Regions from separate parts of the Homo sapiens genome. Here regions 2, 3, 4, 5, 6 and 7 are each linked to region 1. Evidence: promoter capture Hi-C in 16 types of primary human blood cells and fetal thymus (Javierre and others, 2016). All regions are on one chromosome and are shown on one strand. Each heading gives the region's core, a stretch centred on a gene start or on the middle of the fragment in contact. The rest is flanking DNA. Distances are from core to core; before and after follow the strand shown.

Evidence for each region. Contacts are between HindIII fragments. The CHiCAGO score rates a contact against its expected background, and 5 or more counts as called.
Region 2: a contact is called between a fragment that was not itself captured here and the fragment with the promoter of DACH1 in region 1, in 1 of 17 cell types (fetal thymus). The highest score is 5.0, in fetal thymus.
Region 3: a fragment that was not itself captured here is called in contact with the fragment with the promoter of DACH1 in region 1 in 1 of 17 cell types (endothelial precursors); the score reaches 6.4 in endothelial precursors.
Region 4: a contact is called between a fragment that was not itself captured here and the fragment with the promoter of DACH1 in region 1, in 2 of 17 cell types (endothelial precursors and monocytes). The highest score is 11.8, in endothelial precursors.
Region 5: a fragment that was not itself captured here is called in contact with the fragment with the promoter of DACH1 in region 1 in 1 of 17 cell types (monocytes); the score reaches 6.8 in monocytes.
Region 6: a contact is called between a fragment that was not itself captured here and the fragment with the promoter of DACH1 in region 1, in 4 of 17 cell types (monocytes, M0 macrophages, fetal thymus and 1 more). The highest score is 12.7, in monocytes.
Region 7: a contact is called between a fragment that was not itself captured here and the fragment with the promoter of DACH1 in region 1, in 5 of 17 cell types (M0 macrophages, erythroblasts, M2 macrophages and 2 more). The highest score is 7.2, in M0 macrophages.

Annotation. Positions count from the first base shown.
Region 1 is chr13:71,865,443-71,868,630 of GRCh38, reverse strand. It overlaps DACH1 (dachshund family transcription factor 1), which reads left to right and starts at 1,427. Exons shown (of 11, transcript NM_080759.6): 1 at 1,427-2,709. The coding sequence starts at 1,862. The HindIII fragment of the contact is 4,223 bases long and covers 1,036-3,188 here.
Region 2 is chr13:70,962,407-70,965,594 of GRCh38, reverse strand. No RefSeq gene overlaps it. Among named protein-coding and RNA genes, the nearest start is that of LINC00348, 51 kb to the left of the region's middle. The HindIII fragment of the contact is 2,035 bases long and covers 736-2,770 here.
Region 3 is chr13:71,234,624-71,237,811 of GRCh38, reverse strand. No RefSeq gene overlaps it. Among named protein-coding and RNA genes, the nearest start is that of LINC00348, 220 kb to the right of the region's middle. The HindIII fragment of the contact is 2,929 bases long and covers 253-3,181 here.
Region 4 is chr13:71,250,594-71,253,781 of GRCh38, reverse strand. No RefSeq gene overlaps it. Among named protein-coding and RNA genes, the nearest start is that of LINC00348, 240 kb to the right of the region's middle. The HindIII fragment of the contact is 744 bases long and covers 1,118-1,861 here.
Region 5 is chr13:71,268,951-71,272,138 of GRCh38, reverse strand. No RefSeq gene overlaps it. Among named protein-coding and RNA genes, the nearest start is that of LINC00348, 260 kb to the right of the region's middle. The HindIII fragment of the contact is 1,529 bases long and covers 768-2,296 here.
Region 6 is chr13:71,291,802-71,294,989 of GRCh38, reverse strand. No RefSeq gene overlaps it. Among named protein-coding and RNA genes, the nearest start is that of LINC00348, 280 kb to the right of the region's middle. The HindIII fragment of the contact is 607 bases long and covers 1,151-1,757 here.
Region 7 is chr13:71,309,132-71,312,319 of GRCh38, reverse strand. No RefSeq gene overlaps it. Among named protein-coding and RNA genes, the nearest start is that of LINC00348, 300 kb to the right of the region's middle. The HindIII fragment of the contact is 639 bases long and covers 1,367-2,005 here.

The DNA of each region.
Region 1 (3,188 bases), core at 178-2,677:
CCTGTGAACCTGCTACTAACAGTTTATTTTAAAAATCTGTCAAATGCTAAAGCATTGCTTCATATCTTATGAACTTACTGAACATGTGTGGACCGGTTCAAAGGCTAACTAATTGAAGATACTTGGAGACATGAGCAGCAAATAGATTTGACCCATATTCAAATGATATGTTAGTCAAAAATCCTTGAATAAATACTTCAGTGCAACAAGTTAGAAAAGAAAAGAAAAGGAAAGAGGAAGGAAAGGAGGAATAGAGTCAGTCTAAACTCAGCCTCATGTTGTTTTAAGCACAGCTACCCAAGTCTTTACAAGTCAACTAGTGAGCTTTGTTTTTGTTCTTCCCATTATTTACAAAACATATATTTACTGACAAATTGAAAAGGACTTTCCAAAACTACAGCAGCACTTTTCAAACATGAAAAAAAAAAAAAAAAAACTATTGTGTTGTCCAAAAAACACATTAGCAATTGGCTTTGGGTCTTAAAGGACATGAGGATAGTTGGTTACTGTGTAAGACAGGTGAATTAATTATAGAGTTTTGGGTAAGAAAACCCTTTTTCCACTTTCTAAATCTTCAAGGATACCTTATCTCCTTGATAGCTCTAGGTTTAACAGGTATTTCTGACTGGCTTTTGGGGAGACAGTGAAGTTATTCTAAATCATCCACATCAAGGCAAGCATTTCTTTCCACAACCTATTAGGAAATATGGAATTGAATACAGAGCTTTCCATTATTCTTAAGCGATTTCGGACTGACTTTCTTCTCACCACTTGAAAACTGTCCTGGAATTTTCACTATCTTTATATAAATAAATAATTTAGTAGAGAAATAAACAATCAGATGCAAAAGAACATTACGCTTTGCTTACATGTGAATTTTCCTCAAAATAATTTCTGAATAATCGTGAAGTGGGGGCTGTGTTTTCGTTTCTAGCTCATTGCCAAAACGCGTGGAGATGGATCCTAAATCCTGGAAGGAGAGAGCTCGGCGCGCTCAGGCTCCTCTTTAAGTTGGCGGGCGATTGTTTAGAAGCTTTGGAAAAAATTACCAGTCCCCGCGGACGAAATGGAATGTGAGACATGCAATCTAACGGTAGTAGTAGAAGAGAAGTAGATGATCTCCCTCTCCTTTTCCGATCGCCACTTCTGTGTCCCCGGCTTTTCCTCTCCGTCCCTCCCACAGTTTCTTTCCGTATCCTCCCCCTCCCCTCCTCCTTTCCTCGCACGCTCCCTCTCCAGTGTCTCGCGCTCTCGGAGTCTCTGCTCCGAGTTCCTGGTTGGATAATTTGGGTTAATACTAGTGAGTGAGGTTTTTGCGGCTTCAAAGGGTATTTCAAGTTTCCGGAGCTCCTCCCCTCTGCACCGTGTGACAACAACAACTCGTCCAGCCGGCAGCCTGCACTTTTCAGCTCATTTTCTCTCTGTCATTCCCCTCTCAATCTTTGATCAATGTACTTGCCAGGGAGAGCCCAAGTCCTTCAAACCTCCTCCTTTTCACCTTCATCCTTAACTTTGTGCTAGAGCGAGACCCACACAACAACAGCCGACCCTCCCCGCCCCACCCCCACCCCCAAACCAGCCCTCGATCCCAGCCCCCGGAGAGGACTCGCATTTCGACTTGCGGGACACTTTTGTGCGTTCCTCTCCAGAGCGCCTCTCGTGCTCGCCCCTCTTGCGCTCGCTCTTTATTACCTTCACCTCCTTTTCTCCCCCTTCTCTCCCTTTCTCCTTCTCGTTCTCTCCCGGAGTTGTTGTTGCCCCCCTCGCTCCTTCTCCCCCCTTTTTTCCCCTTCCCCTCCCGGGGGTGTGTGGCAACTTTTCCTCTCGCTTCTCCTCCGTCTGTTTCCCCTTATATGTGACCATGGCAGTGCCGGCGGCTTTGATCCCTCCGACCCAGCTGGTCCCCCCTCAACCCCCAATCTCCACGTCTGCTTCCTCCTCTGGCACCACCACCTCCACCTCTTCGGCGACTTCGTCTCCGGCTCCTTCCATCGGACCCCCGGCGTCCTCTGGGCCAACTCTGTTCCGCCCGGAGCCCATCGCTTCGGCGGCGGCGGCGGCGGCCACAGTCACCTCTACCGGCGGCGGCGGCGGCGGCGGCGGCAGCGGAGGCGGCGGCGGCAGCAGCGGCAACGGAGGCGGCGGTGGCGGCGGCGGCGGTGGCAGCAACTGCAACCCCAACCTGGCGGCCGCGAGCAACGGCAGCGGCGGCGGCGGCGGCGGCATCAGCGCTGGCGGCGGCGTCGCTTCCAGCACCCCCATCAACGCCAGCACCGGCAGCAGCAGCAGCAGCAGTAGCAGCAGCAGCAGCAGCAGCAGTAGTAGCAGCAGCAGCAGTAGCAGCAGCAGCTGCGGCCCCCTCCCCGGGAAACCCGTGTACTCAACCCCGTCCCCAGTGGAAAACACCCCTCAGAATAATGAGTGCAAAATGGTGGATCTGAGGGGGGCCAAAGTGGCTTCCTTCACGGTGGAGGGCTGCGAGCTGATCTGCCTGCCCCAGGCTTTCGACCTGTTCCTGAAGCACTTGGTGGGGGGCTTGCATACGGTCTACACCAAGCTGAAGCGGCTGGAGATCACGCCGGTGGTGTGCAATGTGGAACAAGTTCGCATCCTGAGGGGACTGGGCGCCATCCAGCCAGGAGTGAACCGCTGCAAACTCATCTCCAGGAAGGACTTCGAGACCCTCTACAATGACTGCACCAACGCAAGGTGAGTCGGGGGGGATAGCCCCCGCCGCCCGCGCCCCTTCCCACCAGCCTGCTCGCCTGCCCTCGCTCCTTTCCCGGCGCCGCTCGCTCTGCGCGCCCGCGAGCCGCGCGCCCCGGCGAGCGCGGCCCTCTCCTCTCCCTGCTCGGGGCTCGCCAGCCGCGCCCGACCCCCTGAGAAGTTGGCACCTCACCCTGCCCAGACCTCGCTCTTCGGCCCGGTCCTCCCCTTGCCCTCTGGGTCCCGGGGATGGGCTGCTGTGGGATGTGGGAAAGCCGAGCCTCGGGGCGGAGGGGACGAGAGGGAGGAGGACGGCGCCTTTGCTGGAGCCACAGCCCCCTGCCCCGGGCGCGCGGGCGCCTGGAGACCCCTCTCAGCGCTGCTGTCCGCGTTCGTGCGCTCCCCAGGACCTGGGTTCCACGGCCAGCCTCCCGGCACCGACAGGGCTGATCTGTGGCGCCGAGCGGTGTCCCGGGGGCGGG
Region 2 (3,188 bases), core at 504-3,003, 900 kb after region 1:
ATCAATTGTTTTGCTGCTTAGAAGTTTAACATTAATATAATAGGAAGATTTGTAGATATGGGCTCAAAATCTTCTTGAGTTAAAGTTGCCACCCAAAATCTTACGATGTAGGTGACTTCAGGAAGGAAATTAACATCTCTGAACCTCAGTTTTTATAATTGTCACATGGGGATAATAACACTTACTGTGTGGTACATAGAATGTGGGAAGCTATATAAAAAATAGTAAATAGGAAAACATTCTCTACACTTTGATAGACTAATCAAATGAAAGTTTCACTAACATTAATGGAATGACTTTCACTGTGGCTTGATTTGTACATATCCAGAAGAATAACATTAGTAGCCCAGTATGCTTCTATGACAATTTAGTGTATGCCAATCATTTTACATTTATCAGTTTCTCTCTTTGCCATTGGTATGTGAGTGGCAGAACAGTTATCTATATTAGATCTGTGAGGAAACTGGGTTACAAAAAGTGAAAATATTTGCCTGAGATCATAGAATCGTTGAGTTTCAGAAGTGGAAAAAGTGAATATGTACTCTAACTTCCTCATTTTGCAGATAAGAAAACTGAAGCCCTGAGAAAATCAATGAATGCTTCATGGTATATTGAAAGGGCAATTACATTACTACATGTTTTCATCTGGTCATTCTTTTTTTCTTTCTTATTCATCCAGTCCTTATAATGATAATAATTCAATTATGTAGTATCTTCTTCAGTGGAAACAAAGCTTATCAATCAACCAAATAAAATTATGATATATGTTGGTAAAGCACAAAAAATAATATTCATAAGTTTAAATTTTGTATTCATTCACTCATAACAAAAAAGTAAACAAATATAAGACTTGCTGTCAATTTTAAGAAGTGCCATAAAGAAAATTAATCAGTTGTCAAGACATGGAACAAAGGGATAGAAGGAAATAAAGTTGCTCATTTAAAATGGGTGGTTGGAGAAGGCTTCTTTGATGAGGTGTCATTTGAGTTATTTTGGATGAAAGGGTTAACCATAAAAAGTGAACTTTAAGTAGAAAAACAGTTATTGAAAAGATAAGATACTTTAATTGTATTTGAAATGCAATGGAAAGCTATGGAAGGGTTATACATAGAAAAATATCATGGTGCGTTGTACATTTTTAAAGGATCAGTAGACAATGATCAGAGGAAGCAGGTAAAATAAGAAACTATTGGAGTAGTTCAGATGAGAGGTGATGGTGACTTGGTGTGTATGTCTGATTGTGCAGCTTGTGTACTGCACACCTCTAGGTGGTGCCATTCTCCTAGACTGCAAAGTGTATGGTCTCCTAAAGAGTTGTACAATTAAAACCTGTAAAACTGTACACAATGATGCTGTTTACAGGGGCCGGGGGATGCAGCAGTGGTAAATGGACAGAATTGGCAGAACCAATACATACAGCAGAATAACTTATGCTTTTAATTGTATGGACATTGGTGGGGAGAAATGGGAGAATTTATATCTCTTTTACAACTTAGCAGATATTGGTGCTATTACATAGCTCTTGAATGCTTCTATAATTTCCTTTCTATATTCATTGTTTTCATAAACCATTGAATACATTATAAAATCCAATTGTTAAAATGGTTTCTAAATTTTTTAGAAGCCCTGGACTAATTTTTGCCATATGGATATGAAATGAATTTCATTTGTTAACATGAAAAAATTCTATAAAAGATTAGCTTAACAAATTGGAAACAATATGATCTTTCAAAAATTCAAGCTATACACAGTAAGTGGTCAATAGCTATTTATTGATGGTGATGATGTTGTCTGCCCTTTGAAGGGCTGTTAATAATACAATGCAAACAATGTGCTGTTAAAATCACTTGAATGGGTTATTTAATAATATGATTAGACTAATTTACTGCAAGATTGAAATTCTTATCTGGCATTAATATGGACACTAGACTAGGCCTTGAAAAGAGTCACATAATACACAGTACATTTTTCAGAAGATTTGCTTTTGTATATTCATGTAATTTGGCATTGAAATATTGGTTTAACCTATTATTGAATTCAAAATGTTGTGATTTCAGGCCTTCTCTATCGAGAAGTCACTTTTTTTTTCTTCCCAACAAAGCAAAACATATTGGTTCTTTGTAGGGTTTAACATATTAACTTGGTCTTAGAGGACTGGTATTTTAAAAAGGAAAACAAATAACTTCATTGTAAGGAGAATCTTCAGGGCTCTCTTTGAGAGGATTGGCAATTCATCCAATATTTTACTGCTGTCACTCTGTAATCTGTTGATTGGTGTTCATAATTCTTCACAGAGATATTGTAAAGATTAATGAAACAGAGTTTGTAAAGTATTTTATCTCCACAAACGCTAGTTCTGTGAGCTGAACGTTTAGAAGCCTCATTATACACAGGCTATACCGTGCCAGAACTCTTAAACTGTTAGTAAAATCTCTTAAGTGTTGTTCTTTATCATTGCTGTCTCAATAATGCAGGGCTGTGCCTATCATATCAGTTTTTGTCTCTTCAGGACTGTTTAAGCGTACTACTATTGATACTTGACATTTATCAGAGTTACAGTGATCCTTTTAAATTTGGAGGGTATAGAATTTGTATTTTATCTTTTAGTGTCGTCTAATAATGTCAAGCTCTATATAAGCACAACCCAGAATTACATAAAGAGCAATGCTCTTTAAAGTCTAGCCTCTGTATCATGAACCTCCCAAAGGTTTGCATTAAAAAATAATGCAGTATGTTCCTCTCCCCAAACAGCTTCAAAGTATAGAAAGCTTAATTAAAATGCCTAAAAGGTAGTACCTCATATCAACGCAACTTCTTGCATCATTAATTCCATAATATAATTTCTTCTGGAAAAAATCTTTAATTTCTAGAAGAAAGCAAACATAAACTTTCTTCATATTATTTAAGTCTACCTTGGAGTAGAAGGGATGAAGCATAGAGAGGTGAGGGAATTCTAGAGTAACCAAACAAACACTATTATTGTGAGTGATAGGGGAAGTGGTTGGATCCTCACTCACAGTTGCTCATAGGTTTCCAGGAACGGTCATGCTTAGGAGGGAATCAATACCACTGAGAAGATACCAAAATACACAACAATGTTCAGTCACTTACATGATAATGTTTCTTCGGAGGAGGAAATTTAAGCTAATCTTGTATAAGTCTCATTTTTGTTGTAAAATTTGATTTTT
Region 3 (3,188 bases), core at 468-2,967, 630 kb after region 1:
TCGAACAAAAATTTTCAGAAAGAAAATTTAAATAGCCCTTAAGACCATGAAATTATTGAATGAATAACTTTGTTTTGACTATTAGTGACACTGGCCCTTTAAAGGGCAATAACACATAATCAGCCATTCCTTGACCATTCAAATAGAAATCTAAGTACGTTTTACAGTTGAATAGTTGCATTGCAATGTGAAATGGGGTGTATCAACAGAAATAACCCTTTTCATTTTACCTAATCCCAGGAAATAAAAGCTTTAGCTAATAATAACCCATCCTTACATTAGAAATGTAATTCTAGTAACGGAAAAATCTGAAATAGCTGACCACATACCATTCATCATAGAATGTCAAACAGCCATCAGTTCAAGAATAGAATCCAGTTGCCAAACTAGTAGATATGAAAGTACTATATTTGCAGATCCTCTCTTTGTGAGAAGAAAACAACAGTGGAGGACTCCCAAGCCCACCCGCTTTGAAATGTTGGCATTGGTGTTGGAGTCAGAAATACCAAGCACTCAAATGTATATTGGATTTCTTCCATTTATCATTTTAAAAAACTTTATCTGACACATATGTTTTGTAACCCAGCTGAATTAAAGGCGCTTCCATACAGAAACATAAAAAAGACATGTTAAAAATTATCAGCCAACTTTGAACAAGGTGATTACTGTATAACTTGAGAAAACAAATTTGCAGAAACAGCAACTATAACCACCTTTCATCTCATTCGCAAAAGGCTCATAGATTAAACCACTGAACAGTAGACTATTTGATTTTTTAATATATTTAAGTATTATTTTTAATAGTTTCTATGACATTGTTTTAATCATTTGATTTTATATGTGTGTGTGTTCTAATGACTGCGTGTGTGTGTGTATGCCAGCTATTTATTGCTTTTAATTTACTGTGCTTTAAAATAAACATGCTGACCTGCACCCATTCAATTTCCATAAAGCAGTAAGTTAATACAAATTTGTAGAAGTAACAAAAGGGTATAATAAGAGATGTTACTAAGGTTTTCCACTTTAAAATAAGATTTATAGATTAAAATTTTACACACATACATAAACAACAATTTAAGTAAATATGAAGGAAGGTAAAAAATTAAGACATTACCTACTGATTGGTAGCCTTGCCCATATCTCTATTTTTGTCTTAATCTATCTCCTCCTACCCACATGCTGGCTTCTACATTTTTTTTGGCTTTTTTTAGAAAATGCTTTTTGCATTTTAAAATGTATCTATAAATAATATGTTTTAATTTTTGCTTATTTTCAGAATCTGTAAAAAAATATGAGTCACAATTTAATTACTTCTTGTTTCCTGTTTTCCCTTTTGAAATTATGTTTGTAAGATTCATCAATATTATTGGATATAGCTCTAGCTGATCATTTTACATTGTTGTATATGTATCTCAATTTAGTTATTTATTCCTCTGTTGATAGCCATTTAAGTTTTTTCCAGTTTCTTTAACTGGAAATTGTTTCTTTAACTATTCTTATAGATGTATCCTAGAACCTGTAAGATGTATTTATCCTGGTTACATATTTGAGAGTGGAATTAATTAGGACATCTCAGCATGCGTAGTTCTTCAATATTGGAATAAAGCACAGATTTTAAAGTAGTTGTGACAATTTTCATCCTTACTAGCAACATGAGTTCCTGAGATCAAAGTTTTGACAAATGCATAAACCTGTGTAACTCAATATCTAGATTTTGAAATCTAGAAATCTAGAAATCTTTGTCATCATTCCAGAAAGTTTCCTCATGCCGTTTCCCAGTTGATGTTTAGTTCCACCTCAACAGAAGCATCCACTAATATGAATTTTCTTCACCGTAGATTAGCTGTTCCTTTTCTAGAAATTTATATAGGAGAAATTCTACAGTATATATTATTTTAGGCAAAGATATTTTTCTTTCTTTTAACTGGAATAATCAGTCATTTGGAGATTCATCCAGATATTGTGTGTATTAGAAGTTTGGTGATTTTTATTGACAATATTCCATTGTATGCATATACAAATATTTGATTATCCACTCTCCTCTTGAGTGTCAACAGGGCTCTTCTTAGTTCTGGAGCATTAGGAATAAAGTTACTGTTAACATTCTTGGTCAAGTCTTTTGTTTCTAATGTGTGTTGCATTACTTTTTTCTTAGAGACCTAGATGTGAAGTTGTTGGATCATAGGGTATATACATACTTGCCTTTCAAAAAAGCACTTCCAGACATTTTACATAGTGTTAGTAACTCTTTACTCCTGTCAGTAAAGCATGAAATTTTGTATTACTCTATGTTCTTGCCAAATGTTAGTGTTGACAATCTTTTAATTTTAGCCATTCTGATTGGTGTGTTGTGGTAACTCATGGATATTAGAATTTGCAATTCGCTGATGGCTAATCATTTGACTACTTTTTATGCAATTACTAGCTATTGTGCTTTTTATTTTGTGAAGTGCACAAGCAGTTATTTTGGCCAGATTTTTTAAAAAGTGGGTCGTCTATCTTCTTATTTCTAAGTATAGAAATTCTTTATATATCCAAAATAGGAATCCTTAGTCAGATACATATCTTGCAAATTTTTTTTCCCAGACTATGAATTTTGTCTTGATTTTCTGAATGATGTTGTTTTAGTGTGCAGAGCTTTAAATATTTTTCCATTTAAAAAGAAACTGGGGTGAAACTTACATAATAAAATTACGCATTTAAAATGGACAATTCGTTTGCATCCAGTGGCATTCAGTACATTCAGAATGTTGCACGGTGACCACTTTTATCTAATTCCTATAGCCTAAAACAACAACAACAACAACAAAATCCTTTTCCTATTAAGCAGTTATTACCTATTCCCATTTCTCTTCAGCCACTGGCGACCATTCATCTGTTTTTTTTTTTTTTTTTTTTTTTTTTTTAATCTCTGAAGACTTACCTATTCTAACTATGCAGGCATGAAAAAGAACGAGATCGTGTCCTTCGCAGGAACGTGGATGGAGCTGGAGGCCATTATCCTTAGCAAACCAACACAGCAACAGAAAACCAAATACTGCATGTTCTCTCTTAAAAGTATAAGCTAAATGATGAGAACGCATGAGCACACAGAGAAGAACGACAGACACGGGGGCCTATCGAAGGCTGGAGGGTGGGAAAAGGGAAAGGATCGGGAAAAATAACTAATGGATACTAAGCTTAATACC
Region 4 (3,188 bases), core at 240-2,739, 610 kb after region 1:
ATTAGAGAAAGTGATATTTCTACATTGTGGGAAAGGTAAAAATGTGCACAGAAATCTTTAGCTTAAGACTAAAATGAAAAAAATCTGTTAATATTTCAACACATCATTCCCTTAATCTAGTTGCCTTCAGTGATGACACTCTAATATATTTAATTCACTTTTTCTTTTAAATTGAAAAATAGAAAGAATAAAAAGTTTTAAATATTATAACACATTAAGATTCTTCCATTTCTTCTCGTATGTATTAAAAAATATCAGAATATAAGGGTTAAAAGTACAATGCCTGTAAAATTAATTTGTATTATTGGGCGAGTTATGTTTTGGCTAAAACATTGAGTGATAATACGTGCAAAATAGTATCATAATATTTATAGCAAGCAGAGTTAATCTTTGATACGAAGAGGGAAATGAGATTCCCAGATCAATTCCAAACTATTGTATTGTTTGAGTTCATTTCAAATGCTTCCTCTGGGACTTTTCAGATTGTGGGGTTCAGGGCAATTATGGTTTCAATACACATGGAAATTTTTAGGATATAATCATTAGTAAACATGACTTAAGTGATTTATCATGGTTAGGAAAAATAGTCATTGGAAAATTAAATAATGAAAATGTCATGTTTCTCTACCACTTAGTAACATCAATACAAATTAGAGAATTTGGAGGCAATTACCTACCTGGATTAACAGTGAAGAAAGTCAGTCCACAGTATTATTTTAAAAATTGCCATAAACTGGATGAAGGAGTCAACAATCTACTTATTGAAATGAGTTCATTCACCAAATAAGTTGTGGCAATATATTTCTTCAAAAATAATTTATTTGTATACAGCATATTATTTAATAACTGAGCAGACAGGAATATGACATCTTCCAATCATGCAGTATGTGGTTTCTATACAATATGGATAATACGAACAGAATTGATTTATAGCAATCCAAAGTAAAAGGGGAAATATTGTAACAAGGAATGTTTGCTCCACTGGACAGAAGGTGGGAATATTTACGGATTTCTTTGAGAGCACTATTGTGTTGGATGATGTGTGTTTTATACTTTGGGGGAAAGGTGAGACCTCTCTATCATATCTTTCATTAAACTGCTTGATTTCCCAAAAGCTTGAGATAAACTTGGATATATAGACAGGTTTTTAACCATTTTTTTTTTTGCTATAGTCTAATTTAAACTTATTTGACTTAAATGAAACATTATTCACGGTAGCATGCATTCTAAAGTATTGAGGGTGTTCTATTTGGTTCAAATCAACCACTAGATTTACCTAAACTTAAGAAAGTGAAAGCATTCTCAAAAGTCACATTGCCAGAGACTAAACTGTTAACTTCCATGTTAGTTGGCAAATCTTCTATTTTATTGTTCTCAGTGTTCTAGTCTATGATTGTGTAACTGCTTTCCTTCTGGAAGCTCTGTAAAAATAGATGCATATCTTAAAACGTTGTATAAGGAAGTAGCGTTTTAAGTAAACAATACAGTAACTTGTCTTGAGGCTAATCAGAGTTTTCAAATATCAGAGAAACAACAAAAACAGTTGAATTGAATTTTTAGTCGCTGCTTCTTTAAGTGAATCAGACAAAAATACCTAAATCTTTTAAAATATAGCTTATGTGAATTTCTCATAATTATTAAGGCTTAGAATTTTGTTTCCATATCTTGATTCTCCATGTAAGAGCTTCTAACACACACTTTTAGCTAATGGACAAAACATTTATGAGTGCATGGAATCACAAGCAAGTCAGTAAAAAACACAAAGCATTTTGAGACCAATTGAAATATAATAGATATATAGATAATGACACATTTCAACTGAAAGTTTGCAACAGTTATCTTCCAAGCAAAGTGTAAAGCTTGATTTAACAAAAGATAAAGTTAATACTATTTAATAAGAACAGACCATTATAGATCAGTGAAACTGCAAAACAGAATTATAAGACAAGGGGCAAGCCATATTATCTAAATTAACATTTTTCCAGCATGAACAAGAAGGGCCACTGTAGGAAAGCAAGAGCTAAATAGTACGGCCTGCATTTAGTGAACCTGAAGTAATTATTAATTTATGGTTGTCTGTGATTTTAATGAAAATGAAAGCTGTGAGGAAAGAATTGAAAGAGATAATGTGCCGTGAAATTGAGTTTCATTTATTTAGGGGCCACCTTTTCCTTTTTTGTTGTTGTTAAAGGGAAGAAAGTTAATGCAAGATGTCCACATTAAAATTTCACTAGGATTATGTAACCACTGAGTTAAATGGTAATCATTATATTTGAGCAGAGTTAATGCAAAAGAAATTGAAGCCTAGATTTAGGGCCTACTGGCAAGGGCAAGAATAAAAAAACCCCAATGGCCACAATTAATGCCAAAGTCATAATTACTGTCTTTATAAATATGATGAATCCAGTAGCTATTTCGTCAGATGTATTCTTACTGTCATCACAAAAATGCCCCTTTTTGATGATGGCATCGTTGGAAAGAATATATTTCAAGAATAAAGAGTCAGATACAGGAGGCAAAACAAATCATCAAAATGCAATCGTCTTCTTCAAACTCAAACAAAATGTTTCTACATAGTCATAAGAGTGACAAGCCTTCCAGAGACTAACAGGCATGTCCAGTGTAATAGTGTGGAAAGAACTGCAGTTCATGCACTGAATTTTGTAGCTTCTCTCTACAAAAATAATAACTCTGTCTGCAGAAACATCTTCAAATGAGAAGTCAAGTGATCTAAATTATACTTACTAATTAAATATAGGAAAAGGTGCTCAATGATTTTTCAGGGTTTTTTTTTATTTTATAAGAGAAAATTTTATTTTCTGGTATTTTAATTTCCAAGTTTTAGAATATAATAAGAAAATAATTTAAAATTGAAATACTGTCAGAATTTATAAAAATCATAGAGGTTAGTTATCTTTGCTTTAGAAAAACTTAGGTGAAGTCCATGGAATGGAATATATATACAATATCACATTTTGTTCTGAAAATGTTTAAAAATATATTTTATCACACATATAGATTATGTTTTATGTTTCTAGGTTGAATAGAAATTTATCTATCAAAAATATGTTAAGTAGAGGTCATGTGGGAAAAACAGAATATCTATCCTTTACAAACTAAAATTTTAGTAGGGTAACACCTGCCTAACTTTCTTTTCTTCTCTATTTCTCTTTCTCTGTCTCTCTCTC
Region 5 (3,188 bases), core at 283-2,782, 600 kb after region 1:
AATAGTCAAAAAATCCAGATGGCACTTAATAGTTGATTAACTAAGAGGCAAAATAATAAATACAATAGATGTTAATTGAGTCAAGAGATCATCTTGCTTAAGTTCAAGTAAATAACATAAAGAGGTATATAAACACATGATTTACTTGGAAAAATACAATTTTTACATTTGGTCCAAAAGAGATGGAAAAAGAAACTAAACAAATTCATTTATTGCCACTGAGTTTAAGAAAATAAAAAATAAAATAAAACCAAATTCATTACTCAAAAACAAATGGACAAGTTATACAATAGCTAATTAAAAAGCCCAATAGAACAAAACATCTCTGTAGATTAATTTTATAAAAAATATAAAGAACAGATCCTCATGCTATTTGAAACTTTTTCTTTTGAGACAAGTTCTCTCCCTGTTGCCCAAGCTGGAGAGCAGTGGCACAATCATAGCTCACTGTAACCTTGACATCCTAGGCTGAAGTGATCCTCCCACTTTAGCCTCCCAAGTAGCTGGAATTACAGTTGTGTGCCACTAAGCCTGGCTAATAAAAATAAATTTGTATGTGTGTAGAGATATCTTACTATGTTCCCAGATTGTCCCAAACTGCTGGCCTCAAGTGATCCTCCTGCCTAAGCCTCCCAAAGCACTAGGATTACAGTCATGAGCCACCATGCCTGGCCTTATTTGAAATTTTTAAGAGCACAGTGAATGAAGGACAAAAGGAACCTATAATCACTTTTTACAAATGCAGCATTCTATTTATATCCAAAGCTTACAATTAGAGTAACACACACAAAATTAGACTTATAAATGAGATATACATATATAAAAAAGAATTTTAAAAAGTATATCTGTGAATAGACTGTAGAGAATATTAATGTGAACAAATGGGATTTATATCAGAAATAGAAGTTTAGTTCAAAATTAGAAAATTTACTAAGGTATGTCAACATGACAAAATGTCAAGGCAATAAAATGATACTTTCTATGGATGCTGATAAGGCATTTGATAAAACTAAACATTAACACATGATTAAAAAGTGAATCTTGAAAATAAACATCCAGATTGTCTCTACAACATGACAGAAAATATGCCAGACAAAAAATCATCTTAAAACTTTTCTACTTAAGTCACGACCTTGAGAAGCAGGCCCACTATTATCATTATTATTCAAACATTTTCTGGAAGTATGAACCAATGCAATTAATCTACACAGAGTATAGAGAAATATGACACTTTTAAAGAAGAAGGCAAAATCCTTTTGCCAACAATATTTTATATTTCTGACAAAATACAATTATTTGAAAAAATAGAAACAAAAAGAAGTATGCACAGTGGCTACTTAAAAAGCAGTCATATATAAGCCAAAAATCAGTTAAAAAATGTAACTGAAGAAGAGTTTCCACTCACAGGAACAAGACATATATGTAAAACATCTTAGGGGAAAATAAGAACTTTGGAAGTGCTAAATAAATAAAACTTTTATGCTACTGAGGGTCTTTAATCAAGATTTTAAGACATATATCCCATTCATGGAAACACTCAATACTGTGAAGCTATCAATCTCTCTAATTAACATAGAATCAATTTCAAATAACAGCATCTCTTGAAAAATAGATAATCAATTTAAAAAGTGTGTGTAAAATAAACATTAGGGAATAATCATGAGAATTTTAATATACAATTAATCTATTTATTAAAATATATGTTAAAGTTACATCAATTAAAATAGTTTGATATTATGACATTAATTGACTAGTCTCTTGTCCCTTCAATCTATTTTGTACATCACTAAGAGGTTTAATTTGTCTTCAAATTAAGGAATCCACAAGCTGGTATATTTACTAAATGCACCAAATGATCTGTCCTCTAGGAAGTATTAGAGAAAGGCTAGCATTGGGTTCCATTTTGTGGATGTCATACAGGTTGTTAGCTTTCTGTTGTCATCTTCATCAGGGAATATAACTTAATTTATTAGGGTTAAACTTTTTAGTCAAAAACTCTTTCCAATTATTCTTCCCTGGAGTAACAGTTTCATCACCATAATTACATTTCAGTTGTTCTAGAAACTCTTTAATCACCAACAGTATATTTCTATTATGAGATACGGTTTCCTGAACTCATCCTTTATATTGCTTTACAGCCTTGATAAACGGAGATTTTACATAAGACTACAAGTAGGAGTAAGGAAGACAGTCACCTCAGCCAAGCACAGGGTGGTTTAGAACAGGAGTCCTGTCCGTGGCCTGTTAGGAACTCGGCCCACAGCAGGAGGTGAGTGGTGGGCAAGCAAGGGAAGCTTCATCTGCATTTACAGCCATTCCCCATTACTCACGTTACTTCCTGAGCTTCACCTTCTGTCAGATCAGTGGTGACATTAGATTTTCATGGGATCCCAAACCCTATTTTGAACTGAACAAGTGTGGGATCTAGGTTGTGCGCTCCTGTGAGAATCTAATGCCTGATAATGTGTTACTGTCTCCCATAACTCCCAAAAGGGACCATCTAGTTGCAGGAAAATAAGCTCAGGGCTCTCACTGATTGTACATTATTGTGAGCTGTAGAAATATTTCATTATCTATTATAATGTAATAATATAGAAATAAAGTGCACAATAAGTGTAATGTGCTTGAATCACACTGAAACCGTGCCCTCCACGCCCACCTCCCCATCCATGGAAAAATTGTCTTCCACAAAACTGGTCTCTGGTGGCAAAAAGGTTGGGGACCGCTGGTTTAGAACATTGTTCAGTATCTTTATCTCAAGACTTTGACAGCACCTTAGGTGACTGAACTGGAGAAGGGGTAGTGGTTCCTTCAGAAAGCAGTCCCACTTGGTTCCCTCGTTATCCTCTATTGTTATAGGAACTCAGTGACTCTCTTTCTCAATTAATCAAAATGTGTATTGGTTTCTGTGGTTGTTACTGGTTGGTTAACTCTCTTTGTCATCAGGGTAACTCCACTTGAGAGATAATGGTTTTGTTAGTCTCTACAGTGTCTGTTGGACATAGCCTTTTAACAAAATATTTCAGACTGTAGGTTGATTCCTTTGACATGTTCTGTCTAAGTAGAAAATATTCATGAGGAGGATTGTGGAACCTGGCAGACTTGCTCTCCCCATAAAAACATGAGAACTTCTATCTCAGGGAAGAGTGTTGAATGCATCCATTGTTGCAATGACTGATGAAAATTAA
Region 6 (3,188 bases), core at 205-2,704, 570 kb after region 1:
TTTTTGTTTTAATCTTGGGGTATGTGCTCCAAAAATTATCATCAAACCCATTCTCCCTTTTATTTGTATAAGGTAATATATAGAATGGATTGATCTGGCCACATTACACACACACACACACACACACACACACACACACACATGCACATGAAATGCCGTAAATAATAATGACTTAACTGAAAAGAAGATCATTTCTTTCTAATAAAGTAAGTCTAATAAAAGTAGTCCACAGCTGACACAGCAGCCCCTTGCTGTCTTCCAGCTCTTTGCTTGGCCACCGTTAGCTATGGCTCTCACTGATCTAAGATGGCCAATGGAGCTTCCACCATCCCAATTGCATTTTAGTTATTAGAATGAACTAAGAAAAGGAGAAAGTGAGCACAGGTTTGTATTTTTCCTAAAGTGCTCTGTTCTTCTATATATAACTTATTGCCTGGAACTTAGTCACACTGTTATAGCTAGCTGCAAGGAAGTTTGTCCAGTATGCATATAGCTCAATATGTAAGGTCACTGGATGTTTGCTGACCACTCTATTAGGTGTACCTCTAGCTCTTTATTGTTTGGGGACTTACTAGACTAAATGAAAACTTATCTGTCTGAAACACACGCAGAAGAAAAGGAGCAGCAGGAACAGATGTAAAATAGGAAATTGTGCTCATTAGCTCATCATAATAGTAAGATTCTGCTGGGCATAAATAGTTAAGCCCCCTAACCTAGTAATATAAGAGTCCCTGGTTACCTTACCTGTTCCTACTTCTGCTCTCTATAGAAGCGCTACTTCCATTGTCTGCTCTTATCTCTTGCTCCACCCTTTTGGGTAGGTTCTTCCTTTTCCTGAGCTCTCCATGGCTATTTCTAAGGTGGGCAATAGAAAGCATCCTTAATTAAGCCCCCAAATATCCTGCAGCCCAATTCATTTCAGTGCAGTTTCAGGTACTATTAAAATTTCAACAGTAATAGGCAGGTGCAGTCCAAGCTTGTGGTTTCTTTTGGCTTTCAGATCTTGTAGTTTTTAAGCCTGATTGTACCTTGAGACCACTTAAAAGGATAGACTTGGGTGGGAAGACAACATACTTAATATGATATTTGCTTCTAGCTTGCTTCCCATTGTCTGACAAAGAACTATTCATGGAAGGTCTTTTTAAAAGCTTTAATACCAGTGATTAATCTCCTGCTAAGGCTGTTTCTTTGGAGTAAACTTACAAGGGTTTCAGTTTGGAATGCAGAGCACTTGTCTTTTTTTTTTTTTTAATTCTGAAAGGCTCCAAATTTAATGCTTTTACACTGCAGACGAGAGAGAGAGAGAATTCCTCCCTAACATCTCTGCCTGCAGATAAGCTGGATCAAAGTTGAGCTCATCTCTCCTAGAACTCTGTTGAAAGCAACAAGAAACAGCTAGCACAGACAACATTTTATTTTATTTTTTAACACTTTCCCTTAAGGGTATTTGATCTGCTTTCCTGACAGCCTTTTGTCTGCTTTCCAAAGTGTGGCAGACAGCATTTTGGCCAAATCTTTTATCAATGAAGTATGTATTGCCAGGTTCTCAGCCTAAAATATTGGGAACACATTTTAGGCTCCAATATTGTATTATTGCATGCCCATGAAACAGATTCTATGTACATTAGGATTGTGATAGTCTGGAAATAACAGAGACTTAGAAAGTAGATTCTTAAAAAATATGTAGATTTATTTTTCGCTTTGAGATGTCAAATAGTTCCTGGCTGATAGAAAAGACTCCAATGCCATCAAAAGCTTACATCTTTATCTTTATTCTGCACCATTCCTGTGAACTTATTGCTAAGTTCACTTGGAAGGCCAGTGGGGCTGCTGCAGTTCTGATCATTATGTCCACGTGGCAAACCACAAGAAGGAAGGTATTAAATAAGGTGACTTGGGAGGCCGAAGCAGGCAGATTGCAAGGTCAGAAGATCGAGACCATCCAGGCTAACACGGTGAAACCCCATCTCTACTAAAAATACAAACACAAAATTAGCCAGGCATAGTGGCAGGTGTCTGTAGTCCCAGCTACTCACGAGGCTGAGGCAGGAGAATGGCGTGAACCCAGGAGGCGAAGCTTGCAGTGAGCCGAGATCACACCACTACACTCCAGCCTGGGCGACAGAGCGAGACTCTGTCTCAAAAAATAAAAATAAAAATAAAAATAAATAAATAAATAAATAAATAAAGGTGGCTCCACTGGGAGGTAGCTCATTTAAAAAATCCTCATTTGTCTAAGTTGAATCATCTTGCTTAATAACCTTCCCAGTTGTCCTGTTACAGGGAGTTAGACAGGCATAAGCTGGGCAGGAGAGAGCTCTCCCCAACCCACAAGGAATGTTGGGTGCTGGTTCAGCAGTTATCACATCGCCTCTCTAAATGTGATAAATTGGCAGCTGGCACCAGGGAGAGACCATTTCCTGATGGTCCACACCTGTTGCACTAAAGTGTTAAATGAATGCAGATTCCAGGGAGAGGCAACTTACTGGGCATGTGCATTAAGAGACAAAATGGCAAAGTTGGACCTTCCTGGGACACACCACCAGAAAAGGGAAAAAAGCCGCAGATGGGCATGCATACAACTTCCTAAACACTGTGTGTACTTACCTCCCAAGCGTAAGGACACTGTTCATGTGGAAAGCCCACCATAAGGGAAGAATCATGGGGAAGGGACCAGCCTATCAAGTCCTAGGATCAAGGCGAAACATTACACCTGACTTTCACATGCCTGTTTGTGTCTTGTCCAAGCGTACTTTTCTTTCTTTCCTAGTCTAAAGCCTTTTAAAATAAACTTCCACTCCTGTTCTGAAACTTGCCTTGGTCTCTTTTTCTGCCTTATGCCCTCAGTCAAATTCTTTCTTCTGAGGAGGCAAGAATTGAGATTGCTGCAGATCCATACGGATTCGCTGCCAGTGACTCGATGCCTACTATCGGTAACATATTTGGTGCCTTAAGACTCAACTACTTGCACTGGTAACACATTTGGTGCTGTGAGACTCAGATATTTCTCACCCATAACAGTCCCACCCAACACTCACATACCAGTTTTCAGAATTTAGTCCTCTGGTTGGCAAAGTTCCAAGAGAGATTAGGAACTGTTGTCTTTTGTTCTAGATAGCAATATGTCCAACTAAAAATTGAGTTTCTGCTATTAAGGAAGAAGAAGAGAGACATAGTTGAGGTAGAAG
Region 7 (3,188 bases), core at 437-2,936, 560 kb after region 1:
GCTACAGTCAACTCTCTTTCTCAACTATCCTTGTGCCTTTGTTAACTTTCTCTAGGACATATAAGGCATAATGCAATTGCTTAATTTATTTTGAGATTTAATACTAGATATTTGCATTTTAATACTAGATATTGCTAAAATGTCTTGTTATAAAATTTTACATATGCTGTTTGTGAAATTGATTTTTCTACATATTCTAATAAGTTTTTTCTTTTTAAATTTCTTCTGTGTGCTTTATGTCTCCTATCAGGAAGTTATAGTTATCTGTGTTTTTTTCTGAGTATTATTTGATAGATTTTTAAAAAATAAATGAATTATCAATTGTCCCATTCCAACTTATTAAACAATACACCCTTTCATTACTTAGTTGTAATACCACTTTGGCATATAACAACTATACATATATGAACAACTATATATATATATATATATATATATATATAAATAAACAACTGTATATAAGGATATTCCAATAATTTCTATTATTTTAATTGTTTCTCCCTGTTTCAATATGTTCCTTAATTTGTGGTAGTATTATAATTTGTATGGACAGTTAGTAGCAGATGTTCAATGTTACTATTACCACTTTTTACACTCTTCCTTTTTTCTCCTCCTATATATTACTTTTTCTCTTCATCTTTTCTCTTTTCATTTCTTGTTTCTTATTATTCTCTTCCCTCCTTCACCCTTTTCTCCACTTTCTTTTTTTCACTCCTTCTCCACTATCTTCTCCACTATGTCCTTCTTGGCTCTACTTCCTCAAAATTATCTTGGCTTTTATCGCTGCATTACTCATCCATATAAATTTGGCAATCAGCTTAAGTTATTAAATATTCTTGATATTTTTCTGACATTAAATTGGGAAAAAATTAATTCAAAAATAAATCTTTCTATTTAAGAACATAAAATATCTGTGCAGTTATTAAAAACATTTTCATGTTTTCAAAGATTATTTATAGAGTTTTTGCTTTTGTAATCGTTCATATGTGTCATGAAATTTATCCCAAAATACCTTCCAAATGTTTTTGTTTTTTTGGTTATTGGAATTTAAATACTTTTTAATGACATATTCAAATTTTTTTGAAAGAATAAGGGATGTTGCTAGTTTTATATATTGAGCTTTTTCAAAATTTCATTTGAAATTTTACTAATTTCAGTAGATTGAGTAAACAACTTTTGGATAGTTTCTCTGGAAATAATATGGGTAATACATCATGAAATTTGTTACCTTCTTTCTAATCCTTATATGTCATATTTTTCTTGCTTTATTTCAAATTGTATTTATTAGGATTTCAAATACAATGTTGACTAAGAAATGGTGCTAGTAGACATTCATTCTGATATTAAAGAAAATAAATCTAAAGCTTCACTATGAAAAATGCTATTTACAGTTTGGTAGTTACCATTTTCTGGCTAGAGAAATGTTGTTTTGATTACTAATACACACACACTCATACACAGGTGTTTTACATTTTTCAAATAGTTTTAATATTTGAAGTAATTTTTCTTTAATTATTAATTTGATAATAATTGACTAATAATATATTTATGATATTAAAGACAAGCAATTTTTACATTTGTCATTTAAAAATGTATGGTTAGGTTCACTGAATTAGTATTTTTACTAATTCACTAATTAGTAAAATTAGTGAATAATATTATTTTTATTTTTCACTTACTCTTTAATTTTGACATCAATGCAATACTAGTGTTTTATTACTTGTATTAGTTTGTTTTCTTCTTTCTCTATTTTATGTATACTTTTTCATGAAATTAACAAAACATGTCTCAGTGGTAATAATTTTGTTGGACCTATATGGCCAATACCTCCTTCCAATGAATGGGCATAACATAAGGCCTCAAAATGAGAAAGAGAATGACTTCAGGAGTCATGGAAGTGAAGTTTCCTGCAAAGCTGGAGAAATGGTAATTTGAAGGAAAAAGTAAATGATAAAAGTATAAAAACGTGCAATTCCTACACATCCAAAGTTATGAATTAAAAGCTTATTTTACTTAATAAAAAAATGCTTTTCTTAGAGAAAGAGAGGGAATTATTAATAGCAAGATGGTGACTTACTATTTACAAAATTAAATTTTTGTTCAATTGTGTGCAAATATATTTAATATGTTATTCCTCTGAAAATGAAAGTAAAGACCTGGGAGTTCGTGCAGCTTGACATTTCACTTTTGCTGGGGAGGTCTCAGGGTATAGAGTGACTTTAGTTTATGTTTACACTCGAAGGCAGAGAGTGAGACTGGAATACAGGCCAGCTGCCTTGACTCCACATAAAGTGCTCATTCCACAGCCCTCTGCTTTAGCTGAGGGTGAAGGGGCATTGAAGCAATCACATCAGAATCATCGTAATTCCCACTGGTGTAAAGAAAAATAAAGCGAAGAGTACTCCCTAAATGTCCTTGAAATTAATTATTTGCTAAATCCAAAAACATAACTAGTGTGAACCATTAGGTAATAGATAATACTTCAAAAAATATATACAGTATTGGATAATTGGGCGGTAAACATGTAACTATTGTTCTTTTATTTTCTAAGTGCTACAGGCATATAATGAAAAATTTACACATAGCTCTTTATAATAAACAAGTGTTGCAGAAAACTGTGCTGAGGCCAGGCACGATGGCTCACATCTGTAATCCCAGAACTTTGGGAGGCTGAGGTGGGCGCATCACCTGAGGTCAGGAGTTTGAGACCAGCCTGGCCAACATGATGAAACCCTATCTCTACTAAAAAACACAACAACAACAACAACAACAAAATAGCTGGACGTGGTGGTGGGCTTCTGTAGTCTCAGCTACTCGGGAAGCTGAGGCGGAGAATCTCTTGAACCCAGGAGGCGGAGGTTGCAGTGAGCCGAGATCGTGCCACTGCCCTCTAGCCTGGGTGGTGGAGTGAGACTCTGTCTCAAAAGAAAAAACAAAACAAAACAAAAACAAAAAAGGAAGCTATGCTAAAAGTATCTATTCATTTTTTAAAATGTTTACTGTATTTTGTGTGAGTACTAGGCTGTTTTACCATTACATGGCAAATCACTGTGCTTTATGCTACTTTGCAAGTGACTGAATGAAGGTATTATTTTACTTGAAGCAAAACTGACTATATCAAAGTTCTCAACATGTATAAACATCATTTGACCCCAATAGAGATTAGAAAATATAATATTATGGATGCT